3 separate regions of the Homo sapiens genome follow, and all the other regions are linked to region 3. Evidence: promoter capture Hi-C in human tissues and cell types (Jung and others, 2019). All regions are on one chromosome and are shown on one strand. The core of a region is centred on a gene start or on the middle of the fragment in contact, and the rest is flanking DNA. Distances in the headings are between cores, read along the strand shown.

Region 1 (2,700 bases), core at 140-2,639, 500 kb after region 3:
GTGCATGGAAAAGGATGATGGTGAGGCTGAAAGCAGGAAAAGATTTGACCCATCTCCCAGGTATGAGCAGCCATCTCGGGGCACAGGATCCTAGAATCCTCAGCAAAGGCAGAAAAATGGCTAAGATGACCCTCACCAACCCATATGTGCCTTATCAGCCCAAGAGTGAGTCAGCAGGTGCGGCCAGCACCTTCCGTGTCTGGAAAAGAGACAGGATTGGGAGAAAATGTGGGAGGTTGCCCTTTCCCTGGGCCAAATTAGAATTCTAACCAAGGAGCTTCTTCAGTCTTGCTGGAGAGTAAAGTTCCCAGAGGGGCAGGGAAGAGTCCCAGATTCTACAGAGCTTCCCCTGGAAATGTCAGTGCATCCATCAGCTTTGCTCTTGAGCCTTGCTGAGTCTGAGGTGGACAAAGTGACCCACCCTCCTGGCCATCTTAGTGCCCACCTTGGATCGGGGGAAAAGGGGGTGGCACGCCGAGGCAGAAGTCCCAGAAGTCAGGGCAGCAGTCGGAGACCGTGCGGTTGCAGAAGAGGTCACAGTAACAGATGGCGCCCAGGTAGGGCAGGGCACAGTCGTCGGCACGGCCGCGGCAGCACAGGTCCTGCTCCTGGCAGTACCGGCCTCCCGCGTCCCGGATGCCCCGCAGGTGCAGACCCGGTGCTAGCTCCCGGCGCCCACGACCCTGCTGGGCACCCAGAGCCAAGTGGCCAGCCAGCGGCAGCAACAGCAGTAGCCCCAGTGGACATCGCCACATGGTGGCTCCTGGGCCCTGGGGGGCAGAGATGGTGGGCAGCAGAGACTCCCTGGAACACCAGGGATGAGTCTCCCAGTTTCCTGGAGCTGTGAGTTCAAGAGGGCCCAGCAGGGAGGGAGATCCCGATTCCTGAGTCCCCAGGCAGGACACGGGCAGAGGAGCCCCAGTGTGTGGGCCCTGGCTATAGGGGGATGGGGACTGGGCAGAAACGGAGCCCCTCCCTGACCTAGGCAGGGACCTTCAAGGACAAGGAAATGAGGGTGGTGGCATTCTTGGTGCTCCCACCCAACACTCATCCTGTGGACCCAAGGTCTTCTCTCCTGTCCTAGGTCTCTCTGCCCTCCAGCAGCCTCCATCCCTGACCTGGGTCCTTGACTTTGTGCTTTCCTGTCTCCCCCGGTCTTTTGGGTACACCTCTCTTCTGTTCCTGTGTCCCTCTGTCCCCCTCCACTGTCCCTCTCTCTGCCATCTGTCTTGGTTCCTCTACCTGCCCCCTCCCCCTGTTTCTTCTCTGTCTACACCTTCCGCCCTCTGAGCAGGGGAGCGTCCCTACCTGGTGAAGGTGTGGGCTGGGGCCCAGGCTGGCCCGCGCGCCTCCGCCTCCTGGCTCTGCGACCGCCGGACGCTCAAAGTCAAGAGAGGAGCGCGGGGCGGGGCGCTTTTTGTACCGCCCGCCCTCTGCACCGCCCCAGCAGTGGCGGAAGGGAGGGGCGCCTGGCTTGTACCTGGAGTAACTACCCCACAACTCATGGGCTTGCAGGGTGGAGAAACGACAAGCACACGATTGTCCTGGCTGGGTCTCCTGTGGCGGAAGCCGTTCCCTTAGGGGAACCCCAAGCAGGAAGGATTGCGGTTTCACACTGGGAAGGACTTCACAGTGGGCATCCCTGTGGAGCTGAGGGGCTCTGGTGGAGAAGGGGGGATATGGGCAGCCGAGCTCTGGGTTATGGACACAAGTTTGGGAAATGATGGGGAGGGCATGTGAGGCAAAATTCTGTAAGCCTCTCCTGACCCCTCGGTAATAAAAATAGCCATGCACACCCCTCTCCACTGTGCCCCCTAGGCTTGGGTGCCGCCCCCCTAGCCACCCCAGCTCCTAGGAATGATTGGAATTCCAGGAGTATGATCCTTAGGTGCCCTGGGCGGCTCATCCCTGGGAGGTGGGCAGGGTGTGGGGGTGGCCTCTGCACCCTTTGATCCCTTGTTGAGTCTGCCTTCCCTTGCCTGCTTGGGCCCCTAGACGAGCACTGCCCTCTCTAGCAAACCCAAGGGCATCCTGCTTGGCACCTGTCCCCCTCCAAGGGTCCAAAGGCAAGGGCCCTACCAGCTGGCACCCCCTGCAGAGGCCCTCCTTCCTGCCGCAGGCATAAACCTTTCTTTGCCCAGGCTGGCCTGGGACCCAAACAATGGGGCTTCTGTCCCGCCAGGTCTGCCGTCACCTTTTACCTCCCTATTGTGCAACGCCCTCTCTTCAACAGGTTGGGCCCAGGCCAGAGGTCTCTACCAGCAAAGAGGATAAAAGAGACTACACCTGGACAAACCCTCCCAGGCCCAGGCCTGAGCCTCACATGTGGCCCCGGGGAAGGCATCAGGGACTCCCTTTGCCCTCCCACTGACCTCCCTGCAAACCTCCCCCAAACCAAGGGGCATCCTCAGCTGGCCAGACCCTGGGGGAAGGGAGAGAGCCGAGGATCACCGGCACCTGTGGCTGGGTTACCCCTGCCATGGACCACTGGGTGGTGAGTCACCAAGGGGGTCCTGCCCTGGTGGTGGGGGTGGAGGGATAATATCCGGGGGCCCCAGCACTGGCACTAACACACCCAGGAGCTGCCCATCTGCTCCCTGCAGGGACCTGGGAGGACAAAGCCTAGGTGGGAAACTGAGGCTCAGAAGAATGCACTTGCCTGAGGTCGTGCAGCCAGAACACAGGCTCCCTGCCTGCCAC
Region 2 (2,700 bases), core at 63-2,562, 280 kb after region 3:
CCCCAGAGAGGAAGAGAGAGAGGAGGTGGGAGGGGAGGGGAGGGGAGGGGAAAATAACACATGATAGCTATCTTTACTGTTTATTGAACACCTACTGTGTGCACCTTTTACAAGCAGTGTCTCATTCACATCTCACAATGGCCTAGGAGGTTGGTGCTATTCCCTGCCCATTTCTGGGATGAGGAACCTGGCACCAAGGTCACATATGTGCAGTGGGGAAGCTGAGATTTGAACCCAGGCTGGCTGACTCCAAAGCCTGTGCTTTGAGACTGTTCTGGAGGTGGCTGATAAGAGTAGAGTTTCAAAATCTCTTTAAACCTTCCTAAAGCAATGATTGTTTTATGTTTAAAGCTATTTCTAGTATGAGGAAAAAAAGTGATTTGGCAATAGACGTCAAGAGTCTTTAAAATGTTCCTTCTCCCTGATTCTGTCATCTGCTTCTGAAATCTTGTCCTAAGGACATAATTTAAAGTTTAGGAAACTACTTTCTGCACAAAAAATGTCCTCAGTGCTATTTAGTAATAGTGAAAACCTGGAAATGACCCAAATGTATAGCAACAGAGGTGAGACGTCCACTCCAGTCTCACCCCATCACAGCAGTGTCTACGGGGACTATATGATGTGACAAATGCCTCTGCTATTATTAGTGAACAAAAAGAGAACACCAAGTTGAATATATGATCCCAGCTGTTTCAGGAAAAGGACCCCCAAACCCTGTGTATAGAAAAAGATTATAAAGGGCTGGGCACGGTGGCCCACACCTTTAATCCCAGCACTTTGGGAGGCCGAGGCGTGTGGATCATGAGGTCAAGAGATGGAGACCATCCTGGCCAACCAACATAGTAAAACCCCGTCTCTACTAAAAATACAAAAATTAGCTGGGCATAGTGGCACACGCCTATAGCTACTCAGGAGGCTGAGGCAGAAGAATCGCTTGAACCGGGGAGGTGGAGGTTGCAGTGAGCCGAGATCGAGCCACTGCACTCCAGCCCAGGCAACAGAGCAAGACTCTGTCTCAAAAAACAAACAAACAAACAAAAAAAAAAAAAAGAAAAGAAAAAAAAAGAAAAAGATTGTAAAGGAATACCCAGGATATCAACAGTGGTCTCTGAGTGGTGTGACAAGAAGTGATTTTCTTTTTAATTTTCAAGTTTTGGTGTTTTCCAAATTTTCTTTATGAGTTCACAGTATTTTGGTAATAAAACAACATTTATTATTGAGAAAAATAAACCACATCCTGGGGCCCCCTACCCATGGAGGCCTCCGGGCACCCCCAGCCACGTTTTCAGCCTGCCCCTCTGTCTTCTGCCTCCCAGGGACCGCAGATGTTCATGGACTGCAGCCCACAGGCCCTGCCCATCGCATCAGAGGACACCACGGGGCAGCATGACCACCACTTCTTAGACCCCAACTGCCACATCTGCAAGGGTGGGAGGGGACACGGGAGGGGTGCAGGGGTGGCAGCCAGGCTGGGGCTGAGCGTGCAGTTCAGCAGCAACAGGGATTTGTGGCCTGGGGAGAGGGTGGCAGAGCAGGGGTGCCCGTGCCCCAGGTCACCTAGAAAAGAACCTGGTTCAACCCTGGCTCTAAAGCCCTGGGCTGGCTTCAGCGCTGCTGCTGCCCCTGTTTCAGCTCCTGCCTCTGCTATTTGCAGACTGGGAGCCCTCGAATGAGCTGCTAGGCTCCTTCGAAGCCGCCAAGAGCTGCGGGGACAATATCTTCCAGAAAGCCCTAAGCCAAACTCCTATGCCTGCTCCAGAGATGCCCAAAACCAGGGAGTTGTCTCCCACGGAACCACAGGACAGGTGTGGGGTTGGGAGCAGGGAGGTGGATAACCCAGCAGGGTTGAGGGGGAGGCCACCACCTGGTGCAACAGACATAGCACTGGCTTTTCCTGTGTGGCCTTGGGCAAGTCTTCCCTCCCTTGGGAACCTCACTTTCCCCATCTGTGCAATGGAACTAATCATCCCAGCCTCCTGGCAGCCCCCTGCACAAGGCCAAGCTTGGGCCAGTGTTCCAGTCCCCACAGTAGGGACACAGGATCTGCTCTGAAAAGAAAGGAGGTGCCGGGGAAGTCCTCATGGCCTGCTCTGTCTGGCCCTGTCTTCTGTCCCTCCCTCTAGGGTCCCTCCATCTGGGCTCCATGTGCCTGCTGCACCCACAAAGGCCCTGCCCTGCCTGCCACCCTGGGAAGGTGTTCTGGACATGTTCTCCATCAAGCGGTTCCGGGCCAGGGCCCAGCTGGTCTCGGGACACAGCTGTCGGCTTGTCCAGGTGCACCTGCCCTCCTCGCCAGGGATTCCCTTACACACTGACCAGCCCAGGCAGCCTCTCTCTCTCTCTCTCTTTCACTCATGCATTCTAAAACAATTCATGGGCACCCCTTTCTGTGCCTGGCCCTGTGCAGGGCATGGGGGCAAATGAGATGTTGGTCCCATTCCTACAGAGACAAACAGGGTGAAGGACTCCCTGTCACCCATAGCAAGAAGGGCCCAAAGGAGGGTTTTAGGAGTGATCGTTGAGTGACTTAATGATCAGCTAAAGTGTCGGATGAGAGCAGAGGATAGAGGAGGGAGGGAGGGGCTTTGGAGAAGTTGTAGATTAGCCAGTACAGGCTGCAGACCTCCATGGGGCAATTAGAGCTTTCTGGGCAGCCACTGAGGGTCCTGGAACACTGCCTGCCCATATTTGCCACAGGCT
Region 3 (2,700 bases), core at 108-2,607:
ACTCTGGGTAACTTTGGGACAGCTTTTTCATCCAGGGCCCCATGATTCAGCTCAAAGGGCATTCTGGGATCTCATGGGCAGGACCCAGGGCCTAAATAAAGGGTCAAGGATATGGCTGGGAGAATCCTGTGGCTGTGGACTGAAAAATTGGACCTACTAGGCTGAGCAGTCTAGCCCAAGCTCCCACGCACCACTTCGCACAAAAGTTCTGCACAAAGCTCCTAAGCACCTAAAAAAGTCACAACCTGACTGGGTGTGGTGGCTCACGACTGTAATCTCAGCAATTTGTGAGGCCGAGGCGGGAGGATCGCTTGAGACCAGGAGTTGGAGACCAGCCTGGGCAACATGGCGAAACCCGGTCTCTATTAAAAAATATATATACATACATATACATATTTTTAAAAAGTTATAACCTGTTCATACCTCTTCACAGTAACACAGCAGCCTCCATTCACATACACCCCACGCCGTAGCATCTCAGCTCGGAAGCGTTTCCCACACTTCGGAGCCAATTTTGGGCTTGGATGTATGCCCAAAATTATAAACCTCCACAAGTCTCTAAAAAGTACCTGGCGAAGAGCTCTGCCCTCCATAAACCCCCAGACCAGAAGCTCTGTTCATACGCTGTTATACTTGGCTTAGAAAATCCCACACAAACACCCTTAGTCCAGTCCAGAAGCTCTGCCCACACCCACTCTCCTCTCTTTAGAAGCTCTGCACCCACATAAAGCCCCTCAGCCCAGAAGCTCCGCCTACACACAACTGTCAGCCCAGAAACCCCGCCCACAAGCCAATAAAAGCCCTCTCAGCCCAGAAGCCCCACTCCAGAATGGGCTCCCTCAGTCGGAAGTCTCCCCGCTCCACCGCCCCCAGTGTAACCCCTCCAACCCAGAAACGCCGACTGCACTAGCGCCCCCTGCCCAGAATCTCCACCCTTAGCGCTGAAGCCACGCCCACTGGTAAGTCCCGCCCCCCTTTCTAGCCCCGACGAGCTGGTCCTCACGAAAGCCCAAGCCCCCACAGGGCTTCGTCTTAGAAGCCCCGCCCACCGTCCAATGTCCCGCCCCCACAACAGAGGCCCCACCCCGCAAAACGACAGGAGGGGGCGGGATCCCGTCTGCGCTCGCATCCCCTCCCCCTCCCGTCACCGGGCTCCTGTCCGCGTGGAGCAGCAATTAGCAGCCTGGCCATCCTAACCCGTGCGCCCGCTCGTTGCCAGGCCGAGCCTGAGCCGCTCTGCTCACCCATCTCCTCCCCCCGGTGCTCTCCGCTTCGCCGCCGCAGCTCCTGCGGGCAATATGTCGGAGGCGACGGCGGCCGGGAGAGGACTAACCGCCGCAGCCCAGTCCCGGGTATCAGCCGCGCGCTCCCGCCGCGCCGCTACATTTGCATACAAGGCGGGCTGGAAGCTGGCGCGCGCTTCTTAAAGGGGCCGCCCGGACGGAGGCGGTGCCTGCGCGCTCTTTGTCTCTCGGTCCCCCACGCCCTTCCTGCAGCTGCTGGTGAAGAGACTCAAGAGGGAGGGGAACGGAACCCACCTCCTGCTCTTCCCGTGCGTGTCTTCTCTCAGCATCTCCTGGACCGGGGCGGCGGCGACCGGAGGAGGGTGCGGAGCCGCCTCTCCGCTCCCCTAGGGGTGGACCATATCCCTGACCGGTCCGCAGGCACCTCCAGCCCAGCCCCACGTTGCGCTTCATCCTTCTCTTAGGCCTCACTGCGCTTTAGTCCACCCCAGTCAAAATCCAGGAGTCATTTCCTCCCTCCCTCGGCCCCCACATCCGATCTTTGCCTTAGTCTTTGTGAGCCTAAGTCCTAAATATTTCTCACATTTGACGTTACTCACCGTTCTCATTGTCAACACCGTGGTTCAGATCCTGACTGCCATTTCCCAGCCTTGCAATCTTGTTTTTTTATGCTTTACGATGAGGCTGCTGATGGTCACCGTGTAGGTTTCGGTGAGGGTTAAATGAAATAGAGCATGCAGAACTGAGTCTGTTTTAGTATTAGCCATCACGATGTTTGGAGAAGCATTGACTAAATGAGCTACATTTATTGTCATTAGGATTCTTCCCTCACAAGACCTACAAGCAGTTTTAGTCATCTTGTAGCTCCATTGCTTAGCACAGTGCTTGGCACTTAATAGCAGTATTCAATTAATTGAATGAATTAGTAGATATTTCATTAATAGTCATAGAGCTTACAGTCAAGTGGGAGGAGATAGACATGAACAAAATTGGTAAATTCTGTAGTATGTTAGATGGGAATGGTGTGAAGGAAAAACAGGAAAGGGGGATGGGGTTGCAGTTTTAAATAGGGCAGGCAGAGCAGGCTTCAGAGTTGACTTGAGTAAACACATGAAGGAAATGAGTGAGTCAGTGGTGCAGATTTCTGGAGAAAGGGGGCATTTCAGGCAGAGGGAATAGTTAGTGCAAGGTCCCTCAGGCAGGAGGGTGTATTTATTTTATTATTTTGTTTTTTGAGGGGATGGAGTCTCTGTTGCCCAGGCTGGAGAGCAGTGGCTCGATCTCGGCTCACTGCAACCTCCACCTGCTGGGTGCAAGCGATTCTCCTGCCTCAGCCTCCCAACAAGCTGAAATTACAGGCGTGCACCACCATGCCCGGCTAATTTTTGTTTTTGTTTTGTTTTGTTTTTTTGAGACTGGAGTCTCCCTTTCTGTTGCCCAGGCTGGAGTGCAGTGG

The links. Contacts are between HindIII fragments. The study calls those that stand out against the background at their distance.
Region 1: a contact is called between the fragment with the promoter of TINAGL1 here and the fragment with the promoter of TMEM39B in region 3, in 1 of the 25 tissues and cell types used here (spleen).
Region 2: a fragment that was not itself captured here is called in contact with the fragment with the promoter of TMEM39B in region 3 in 1 of the 25 tissues and cell types used here (spleen).

What each region holds. Positions count from the first base shown.
Region 1 is chr1:31,575,204-31,577,903 of GRCh38, reverse strand. TINAGL1 (tubulointerstitial nephritis antigen like 1) reads right to left here and starts at 1,389. Exons shown (of 12, transcript NM_022164.3): 1 at 1,309-1,389; 2 at 446-770. The coding sequence starts at 755. It overlaps LOC105378626 (a long non-coding RNA gene), which reads left to right and starts at 7. Exons shown (of 6, transcript NR_188671.1): 1 at 7-60; 2 at 2,234-2,494. RefSeq lists an enhancer at 858-1,578. The HindIII fragment of the contact is 21,101 bases long and covers 1-2,700 here.
Region 2 is chr1:31,792,852-31,795,551 of GRCh38, reverse strand. It overlaps SPOCD1 (SPOC domain containing 1), which reads left to right. Exons shown (of 16, transcript NM_144569.7): 11 at 1,317-1,428; 12 at 1,655-1,805; 13 at 2,124-2,274. Among named protein-coding and RNA genes, the nearest start is that of SPOCD1, 22 kb to the left of the region's middle. The HindIII fragment of the contact is 6,745 bases long and covers 1-2,700 here.
Region 3 is chr1:32,071,596-32,074,295 of GRCh38, reverse strand. TMEM39B (transmembrane protein 39B) reads right to left here and starts at 1,357. Exons shown (of 9, transcript NM_018056.4): 1 at 1,245-1,357. The coding sequence starts at 1,248. RefSeq lists an enhancer at 1,353-1,958. The HindIII fragment of the contact is 13,852 bases long and covers 1-2,700 here.